Linked DNA regions of Homo sapiens: all the other regions are linked to region 1. Evidence: promoter capture Hi-C in human tissues and cell types (Jung and others, 2019). All regions are on one chromosome and are shown on one strand. Each heading gives the region's core, a stretch centred on a gene start or on the middle of the fragment in contact. The rest is flanking DNA. Distances are from core to core; before and after follow the strand shown. Region 1 holds the start of ZDHHC18 (zDHHC palmitoyltransferase 18). Region 2 overlaps RPS6KA1 (ribosomal protein S6 kinase A1). Region 3 holds the start of SLC9A1 (solute carrier family 9 member A1).

Evidence for each region. Contacts are between HindIII fragments. The study calls those that stand out against the background at their distance.
Region 2: a fragment that was not itself captured here is called in contact with the fragment with the promoter of ZDHHC18 in region 1 in 1 of the 25 tissues and cell types used here (spleen).
Region 3: a contact is called between the fragment with the promoter of SLC9A1 here and the fragment with the promoter of ZDHHC18 in region 1, in 1 of the 25 tissues and cell types used here (adrenal gland).

The regions. Positions count from the first base shown.
Region 1 is chr1:26,824,963-26,827,961 of GRCh38, reverse strand. It overlaps ZDHHC18 (zDHHC palmitoyltransferase 18), which reads right to left and starts at 1,274. Exons shown (of 8, transcript NM_032283.3): 1 at 823-1,274. The coding sequence starts at 1,157. RefSeq lists silencers at 1,007-1,216, 1,227-1,376, 1,340-1,492. The HindIII fragment of the contact is 18,291 bases long and covers 1-2,999 here.
Region 2 is chr1:26,560,869-26,563,728 of GRCh38, reverse strand. It overlaps RPS6KA1 (ribosomal protein S6 kinase A1), which reads right to left. Exons shown (of 22, transcript NM_002953.4): 16 at 2,595-2,684; 17 at 2,066-2,224. Among named protein-coding and RNA genes, the nearest start is that of MIR1976, 7.8 kb to the right of the region's middle. The HindIII fragment of the contact is 8,603 bases long and covers 1-2,860 here.
Region 3 is chr1:27,153,623-27,156,531 of GRCh38, reverse strand. It overlaps SLC9A1 (solute carrier family 9 member A1), which reads left to right and starts at 1,407. Exons shown (of 12, transcript NM_003047.5): 1 at 1,407-2,549. The coding sequence starts at 2,198. RefSeq lists an enhancer at 13-512 and a silencer at 1,458-1,687. The HindIII fragment of the contact is 28,159 bases long and covers 1-2,909 here.

The DNA.
Region 1 (2,999 bases), core at 25-2,524:
GGAACAGGCCAGAGGGACGTTCCAGAATGTTGAGCAGGGAAAGAAAGCCAGGTGGTCAGCAGGGGGGCCAGGGGCCTGGGAGCCGGCTGGGTGGAGGCGGGCGGGATCTGAGGGAAGGACAGGAAGCTCTGGAGAACCTAAGGAAGGTTCTGGAGAAGGAAAGGGGGCCCGAGAGGCCCAAAGATTTTGAGAAAAGATGCCTTGGGGCCTAGGGTGTGCGTGGCTGAGGGGAAGCAAAAGCGGGGTTGGTGTCTGAGACTAGAGAAAAGGAGGGGACCCTGGAGGGACCCGGAGAGGGCAGCGAGGATGACTAGGATGTTTATGGTGGGTGTGCACAGCCAAAGGACACACAAGATCTAGAAGTGGTCAGGAAGGGATACAAGGGTCAGAAAGAACTTGGGGGGTTGGCAAGAGATGGTCCAGGGATGGGTGAGCAGGAGGGGCCTGTTCAAGAAGCCCTGGGGCAGGTTCTGAGAGGGCAGCGAGGATGGGGGCCGTGGAGGGGCATGGAGGCTGGTGTTCCTGGCAGTGGCAGGCAGACAGGTGCCAGGGTGGGGTCAGGGAGAATGGAGGGGCTGGGAGGGTGGAGGGCACCAGCGCGGATGGGGTACCCAAATGGACCAAGGAGGATGGGGCATCTGGCGGGGATGGGGGTGCGCAGGGGCCAGGGGGGCAGACAAGAGGCCCGAGGAGGATCCCAAAGGGGCGGGGAGGATGAGGACCAGGGAGGCGAAGGGGAAGGCACGGAGTGCCCAGCAGGGATTGGGAAGGTGGGGTGCGCGGCAGGGGGCTGGGAGGGGGCGCCGAGGCAGCGGAACTCACTCAAAGACGAAGAAGAGGCCGGTGGTGGTGAGGATGAGCAGCAGCGTGAGCGCGAAGACGCCGCCGTGGCCGGCCAGCATGAGGCGGCCGCCGCAGTAGAAGCGATTGCGACCCGGGAACACCTCCCACTTGCGCCGTGGGCGGCGGCCGAGGCTCCCGCTCCCGCTGCCGCTGCCGCTGCCGCTGCTGCTCCAGCGCGGCGGGGCGGGGGCGGCGGGCGGCGCGGGCCCGGGGCCCGGAGTCGGGGACGCGGCGGGGCCGGGACGGCGCGCCCCCGGGGAGGCGGGCAGCGGGGCGGCCCCGGGGCTGATCTGCTGGTACTCGCAGTCCTTCATGCAGCCAGCCGCGGGCCTCGGCTCCGCGCCCCGCGGGCCGGCCGGGCCACTCCGGGACCGGGCCGAGCAGCGGAGGTGGCAGCGGCGGCGCGCGCGGCGCTCGCTCGCTCACTCACTGGGGCGGCCCCGCCATCGCTCCGCCCCCGGCCCGCCGCCACCGCCCGCCGCGGCCTCCCGCCGCAGCGCCCCCTCCGCCTGGGCCCGGGATGGCGCTTGGCCGGAGGCCCAGCTCTGACCCGCGGCGGGGCCCCGCAGGTCCCCGGCCCTCCCAGTCTCCCTTTTCCCTTCTGCACAAAGAGGGGGCCAGCAGACGCGCACTCGAGGGCTCTTTCTGTTCTGCAAGCAAGCCGTTTGTTGGGCGTCCACTGTGTACCAGGCACGGTGCCAAACGCCGAGATTCAGGTGGTGGACTTCGTGATCTACTTCTGGCAGTCTGTAATTCCCCAGGCTTCGCCCATCTCTGAGGGTCGAACTGACAGGCATTTGCAGAGGCAGGCAGGCGCGGGGAGGTGGGGCACACGATTTGCTTTGAAAGCCAGGACCTCTTCTACCTTGAAGTCCAGAGTGCCCACTGGAGGTGTGTGGCACACCCTCTGGCCTCGTTCACCAAGTTCTGTGTCCTGGGCCCAGGCCCAGATTTTCCTAGGTAGCACATAATGTAGAGGGGTCATGCCTGAGGGCCCCAGTGTTTTTTCAGGAATTCTGGGAGTATTCATTTTCTACTGCTGTGTAACAAGTTACCACAAATTTAAGGCTTAAAACAAACATTATCGGCCGGGCGCGGTGTCTCACGCCTGTAATCCCAGCACTTTGGGAGGCCGAGGTGGGTGGATCACAAGGTCGAGAGAGACCATCCTGGCCAATATGGTGAAACCCCGTCTCTACTAAAAATAAAAAATTAGCTGGGCATGGTGGCACGGCATCTATAGTCCCAGCTACTCGGGAGGCTGAGGCAGGAGAATTGCTTGAACCCAGGAGGTGGAGGTTGCAGTGAGCCGAGATTGTGCCATTGCACCCGGCCTGGTGACAGAGCAAGACTCCGTCTCAAAAAAAACAAAAAACAAACGTTATCTAACAGGTTCCAGGTCAGGAGCCAGAGAACAGCTTAGCTGGGTCCTCTGCTTAGTCTCACAAGGCTGCAATCAGGCTGCATTCTCATCTGGAGACTCAGCCAGGGAAGAATCCACTTGCAAGCCCATTTGGGTTATTGGCAGAATTAACTTCCTTGCGACTGTTTAACTGAAGAGGGCCTGGGATTTTTGCTGGGTGACTGTATAACTGAGGAGGGCCTGGGATTTTTGCTGGGTGTCTGCTGGAGGCCTCTCTCAGGATCCAAAAGCCACCTGCAGTTCCTAGAGATTATCACATTTCCTTGCCATGCAGGTTTCTCCTACATAGCCACTTAGTTTCTTGAAACTGACAATGAGGGTCTCTAGCTCCAGACTATGATGATAGAGTTTTATATAACTTACTATATATGTGACAGAGTGGCATCCCATCATCATTGCCATCTCCTATGGTTAAAAGCAAAGCACAGGAGCCATCTGCACTCAAGAAAAGGGAATCACACAAGGCGTAAATACCAGGAGGCAGGAATCATTGGGGGTCAGCTTAGGGTATGTCTGTCACACTGTGGTTACTGTAAAACCTAAGGAAAAGTGCAAGGAAAAAAAGAACTGGAGACTAGGAGAAAGTAAAAAAGGAAGTAAAAATATACAATGGGGAGGAGTAGGAAGCCGACAACAGTGACCTTAAGGATCAATAATTGATATATATGCCAAAGGCTGCTCAGCCGTGCCTTTGGTGCCAAAGGCTCTCAATATGATGAGCCCCATCTTGAGC
Region 2 (2,860 bases), core at 248-2,747, 260 kb after region 1:
AATGATCCAGGAGGCAGCCGACAGACAAATTCAGAATGTGAGACATTCCACAGAACTCATATACAATATGTCGGTGGCATAAAAAAGGGAGGTCTAATTGTGGAGGCGACATGGGTGTACACATTTAACAAAATTCATCAGAATGTACCCTTGAAATCTACTGTATGCAAATTTTCCTCCAGTTTTAAAAAAGAAGAAAAGAGGCTGGGTAAGGTGGCTTACGCCTGTAATCCCAGCACTTTGGGAGGCCAAGGTGGGCAAATCACTTGAGCTCAAGAGTTCAAGACCAGCCTGGGCAACAAGCCAAAACCCCATCTCTACAAAAAATACAAAATTAGCCAGGTGTGGTGGTGCGTGCCTGTGGTCCCCGCTATTTGGGAGGCTGAAGTGGGAGGATCATTTGAGCGCAAGGAGGTCAAGGCTGCAGTGAACTGCAATTGTGTCACTGCATTCCAGCCTGGGCAACAGAGTGAGACCCTGTCTCAAAAAAAAGGGGGAGAGATTTACCAACTGAATGAAATGTGTGGAACTTACAGGTATTCTAATTTCAATAAACCAGTCAAAAAAGACATTTTTGAAAGGACAATGGGGGCCGGGTGTGGTGGCTCACACCTGTAATCCCAGCACTTTGGGAGGCCGAGGCGGGCAGATCACCTGAGGTCAGGAGTTTGAGACCAGCCTGGCCAACATGGTGAAACCCCATCTCTACTAAAAATACAAAAAAATTAGCCAGGCATGGTGACAGGCGCCTCTAATCCCAGCTACTTGGGAGGCTGAGGCAGGAGAGTCACTTGAACCCGGGAGGCAGAGGTTGCAGTGAGCCAAGATCGTGCCACTGCACTCCAGCCTGGGCGACAGGAGCAAGACTCTATCTCCAAAAAAAAAAAAAAAAAAAAAAAAAAAGGACAATAGGAGAAAAATGTGTCTATGGACTGGGTACTATGTGAAAACAAGTTAACAACCTCATACACCAAGACCTGGACTCAGCCAGGTGGATTCATAGCCTGCATTCTTAACCCCCATGTTGTCTGATCAGATGCACCCTAAAACATTATCTCATGCAGAGAGAAGCTAATGCTACTGTTTTGGGCTTTAATCCACTGTAATGAACTTTCCTACCTCACCGTCATCTAGTGCTCACCTGCCTTGTGCAGTAATAAAGGCCAGACCCTGCCATTTGGACCTATACCTCTTCTGCAGTCCCTGCTACGTTTCCAGCAGAATTTCCTCCTGCATCCATTTCCTCTGCCTTAGCAACTGAACCCAGTCAAATTCACCTCCCTGAAGCCTTGCAGCTCCCCCACGGTGACCCTGCCACTTCCTAACTCAAAAGCCACTCCCCACCTAAATTCTTCAGTCTGAAATTCTTCCATTCTTCCCGGGCTATGTGATATTTAGCAAATGAACTTTCATCTCTGAGCTCCGGTCTTCTTACCTGTGAAGTGGGGCCAGTAACAGCATCTATCTCAGAGTTGTTGTGAAAATCAATTGAGATAATGTAAATCTTATTTATGTATTTATTTATTAGATGGAGTTTCGCTCTGTTGCCCAGGCTGTAGTGCAATGGTGTGATCTTGGCTCACTGCAACCTCCGCCTCCCGGGTTCAAGCCACTCTTCTGCCTCAGCCTCCCAAGTAGCTGAGATTACAGATGCCCCCCACCACACCCGGCTAATTTTTTTGTATTTTAGTAGAGATGGGGTTTCACCATGTTGGCCAGGCTGGTGTCAAACTCCTGACCTCAAGTGATCCACCTGCGTTGCCCTCCCAAGTTGCTGGGATTACAGGCGTGAGCTACCATGCCTGGTCTGGAAACTTCATCTTATGCTAAACCTTACCATGGTGCCTGGCACACAGTAGATACTGAATAACTTTCCATACCTTCCCTTTCACAATTGGCCACATCTCTCCCTCCTTCCTTTGCACGCATCCACCCACCCAGCCCTAGTGTCCCCTCAGTTTGGCTAGCTGGAGGCTGCCATTCCTGGGCCAGCAGGTGGTTCATGTTCTCTGCTGATGATATGACCCTTGGCATCCCCCTACTGCCTCCCCGAATCCAGACTCACCCCCTGTGAGTGCAGATACTCCACAGTTTTGCCAATGGTGTGCAGGACAAAGCTGGCCTCCCGCTCTGAGAAGAACTTCTGCCGCAGGATCTTGTCCAGCAGCTCCCCACCCCGCATCAGCTCTGTCACCAGGTACACGTGTTTGCCATCATCATACACCTGCCGAAGACCTCACCATCAGGCTCTTCTCCCCAGTGTCAGGCCTGAGCCCCCTGGTCAGCAGCGCCCCAGAGCAGGGAAGAATGACATGAGCCTTGGGCAGGTGTTCTGCTTGCTCTTCAGTGGTCCTGCCTTCCCCAAAAGGAGGATGCTGACACTGGTCTCCTGATACGCAAGAAGGTCCTCAGAAAATGTCTGAGTCTGAAGGAGGGCCCTTGGGGTATGGGCAGACTGAAGGGACCAAGGGACCTCCTTCCCCTCCACATGACCACTGGAAAGAGGATGAGAAGTCAAAGGAATGGCAATCCTGAGACAAATCCTGAGAGTTGAGTTCCTGGTCCCCACCCCAGTCTTAAGGACCCCCACTCACATCTTTCAGAGTGATGATGTTGGGGTGCTGGCCATACCGCAGAAGAATCTCAATCTCTTCTGAAGGATCCCGCTTGCTCTTATCAATGACCTGAAGAAAGGGGGTGCATGTGGCAGTGTCAGGGTGACAGGGTCCAGGGTCCTTTCTGGCCATGGAGCAGGCCAGGAGGTCTCGGCCACACACCTTTCATACATCTGCAGAGCTCAGGCACCATCCCTCCCCACCAGACGGGGACCTGCCCCCAACCCAGCAGCCTTGGCCGAGAC
Region 3 (2,909 bases), core at 158-2,657, 330 kb before region 1:
GCGTCAGCCACTACGCCCGGCCTAGACAATGGTATTTTAAAAAAGCTTTCCAGTGATTCCATTGTACAGCCATGATCCCTTGAACCTCACCAATTTCAACCAAACTATAGGTTCAAATTTAAGTTCCACTACTTAAAGCATGCCACTGTTGTGGGTTGAATTGTGTCCCGGCAAAAGAAGTTGAAGTCCTAATGCCCAGTGCCTATGAAGATGGACTAATTAGGATGCAGTCTTTGAAGATGTTCAGGTTAAGATGAGGTAATTACGTTGGATTTCTAATCCAATGACTGGTGTCCTTATAAAAAGGGGAAATCTGGCTGGGGGTTGTGGCTTACCCCTGTAATCCCAGCACTTTGGGAGGCCGAGGCGGGTGGATCACCTGAGGTCAGGAGTTCGAGACCAGCCTGACCAACATGGTGAAACCCCATCTCTACTAAAAATACAAAAATTAGCTGGACGTGGTGGTGGGTGCCAGTAATCCCAGCTACTCTGGAGGCTGAGGCAGGAGAATCGCTTGAATCCAGGAGGCAGAGGTTGCATTGAGCTGAGATGGCGCCACCGCACTCCAGCCTGGGCAACAAGAGCCAGACTCTATCTCAAAAAAAATAAAAATAAAAATAAAGTGTGGGCGGGGAATCTGGACGCAGAGACAGAGACACCAGGAGAACTCCATGGAATACCAGATAGTCCTAACAAACCACTGGAAGGTAGGAGAAAGGCATGGGACAGATTCTCCCTCATAGCTCTCAGCTGAAACCAACCCTGCCAACACCTAGATCCGACCTCCAGCCTCCAGAACTGTGAGACAATCAATTTCTGTTGTTGCAGCCACCCAGTTTGGGGTGATACTTTGTTACGGCAGCCCTAGTAAGCAATACAACTACTTGCATAGTAGCCAGGGGACTCTCTTCACCTGTTTCCTCATCTGTAAAAGTGGAATTGTAATAATGTGCCAGGGTGCATTCCAAATAGTTTACACGGATTGTCTCAGTCATTACATCATCCCTCTGACATAGTCACTATTACTGTCTCTACTTAACAGATGAGAAAGTTGTGAAACAGGTTAAGTAACTTGCTCAAGGTCACACGGTAACTAAATACATAAACTAATAATACATTCTTCACAGGATTATTCGAAAGCCCTTATGAGACTGCAGATGTGGACGTGAAATCGTTTTGTAAGTAGTCGGCATTTTACTCGCGTTAGTGAGGTTCTCTGTATATTCAGGACTTTTTTTTTTTTTTTTTTTTGTCATCTCTGACTCTCCTTCCTCTTCCTACGCGATACTTCTTTCCCTCGGCGACAGGGGCCGCTGCGCTGGGCGGGTGCCGACGGTCTCTCTAGCCCGCCGCACCGGCTGCTCGCTGGTGCCTATAAGTGACAGCGCCGGGCTCAGCTAGGCTTCAGTCTGCTGCCGCCGGGGCCGGGGCTAGGGTTAGTTCTGGAGCTGGACCAGGAGGAGCTGCAGCTGGGCCGGGGCGGAGCGCCGCGTCGCGCCAGGGCCGCGAGGAGGGGCGTGTTGCTGCTGGCCCACCGCGAGCCGCCCCCAGCCCGCGCCGAGGCGCCTTCCCGCCAGGCCGCCTGCCTTCCGCCTCTTTCCATTTCCCCGGAATCTCAGCCCGGCGCGCCTGGACCCCTGCCCCTCTCTGGGTGGAGAAGCTCCCGGCCGCTTCCCGGTTTCACTCCTTCTCAGCCTGGGCTCCCAGCCCCCTCTCTCCTTTTCCTGGACTGGCTCTCACCCCCTTCGGTCCCCTTCCTTTAGCTCAGGCTCCCTACCCCTTCCTTTAGCCCACAGCCCAGAGTCCCAGCTCCTCAGTCACTTTCCTCAGCCAAAGGTCCCAGCCTTCCTTCTTCCTTTCCTTTGCACTATCCCTATCCTGCCCCTTCCTCTATCCCTAGGGCTCAGTTTCCCACATCCGTCCTCCCCCTTCCCAGGCCCGGAGTTCCAGACCTTTTGGTCTCCTTTCGTGGTCGTTCCTGGGTCCTTGCCCCCTTTCCCCACTTTGGAGTTCCAGATTGCAAACCCAGCCTCCCTCCACCCCCAGAAAATTGCTTCCATGGAAATGCCTCTCTAAAACATGAACTTTTCCTAGAGACTACGCCAGTCTCTCTTCCCACTTGCTGACCCTTTGCTACCTATGTGCCCGGTTTTACTCTCATTTGGGTAAGGTCGAGGCTGGCTCTGGAAGCAGCACCATGGTTCTGCGGTCTGGCATCTGTGGCCTCTCTCCACATCGGATCTTCCCTTCCTTACTCGTGGTGGTTGCTTTGGTGGGGCTGCTGCCTGTTCTCAGGAGCCATGGCCTCCAGCTCAGCCCAACTGCCAGCACCATTCGAAGCTCAGAGCCACCACGAGAACGCTCGATTGGGGATGTCACCACCGCTCCACCGGAGGTCACCCCAGAGAGCCGCCCTGTTAATCATTCCGTCACTGATCATGGCATGAAGCCGCGCAAGGCCTTTCCAGTCCTGGGCATCGACTACACACACGTGCGCACCCCCTTCGAGATCTCCCTCTGGATCCTTCTGGCCTGCCTCATGAAGATAGGTAAGTCCCGTTTGCTCCGATGCTGCGGCCGCCACCAGACTGGTGAGCTTCTTGCCTCATCTCGCACCATTTGAGGCTGTCCAGGAGTAAGGATCTGAACTACCCCCATAAAGTAGGCAGTCTCCATCCTGCCACCTTGGTCCTTCTCAGGCTCCAGTTCTGTGGCTTCTGATCTGTGATCTGAGGCTTCCCAAGATTGGAGCCAGCACTGTGCACAGAAGAGAGCAGGATTAGAGAATGGGATGCCTCTGATCCTAGGTCCCTTCAGTAAGGCTTCCACGACTGGCAAGTCTCCTCTGGCTGGGCCAGACCCCCAGGGGAGCCAGGCACCCCGCTGTGTGTGAGACAGAAAGGAGTGTC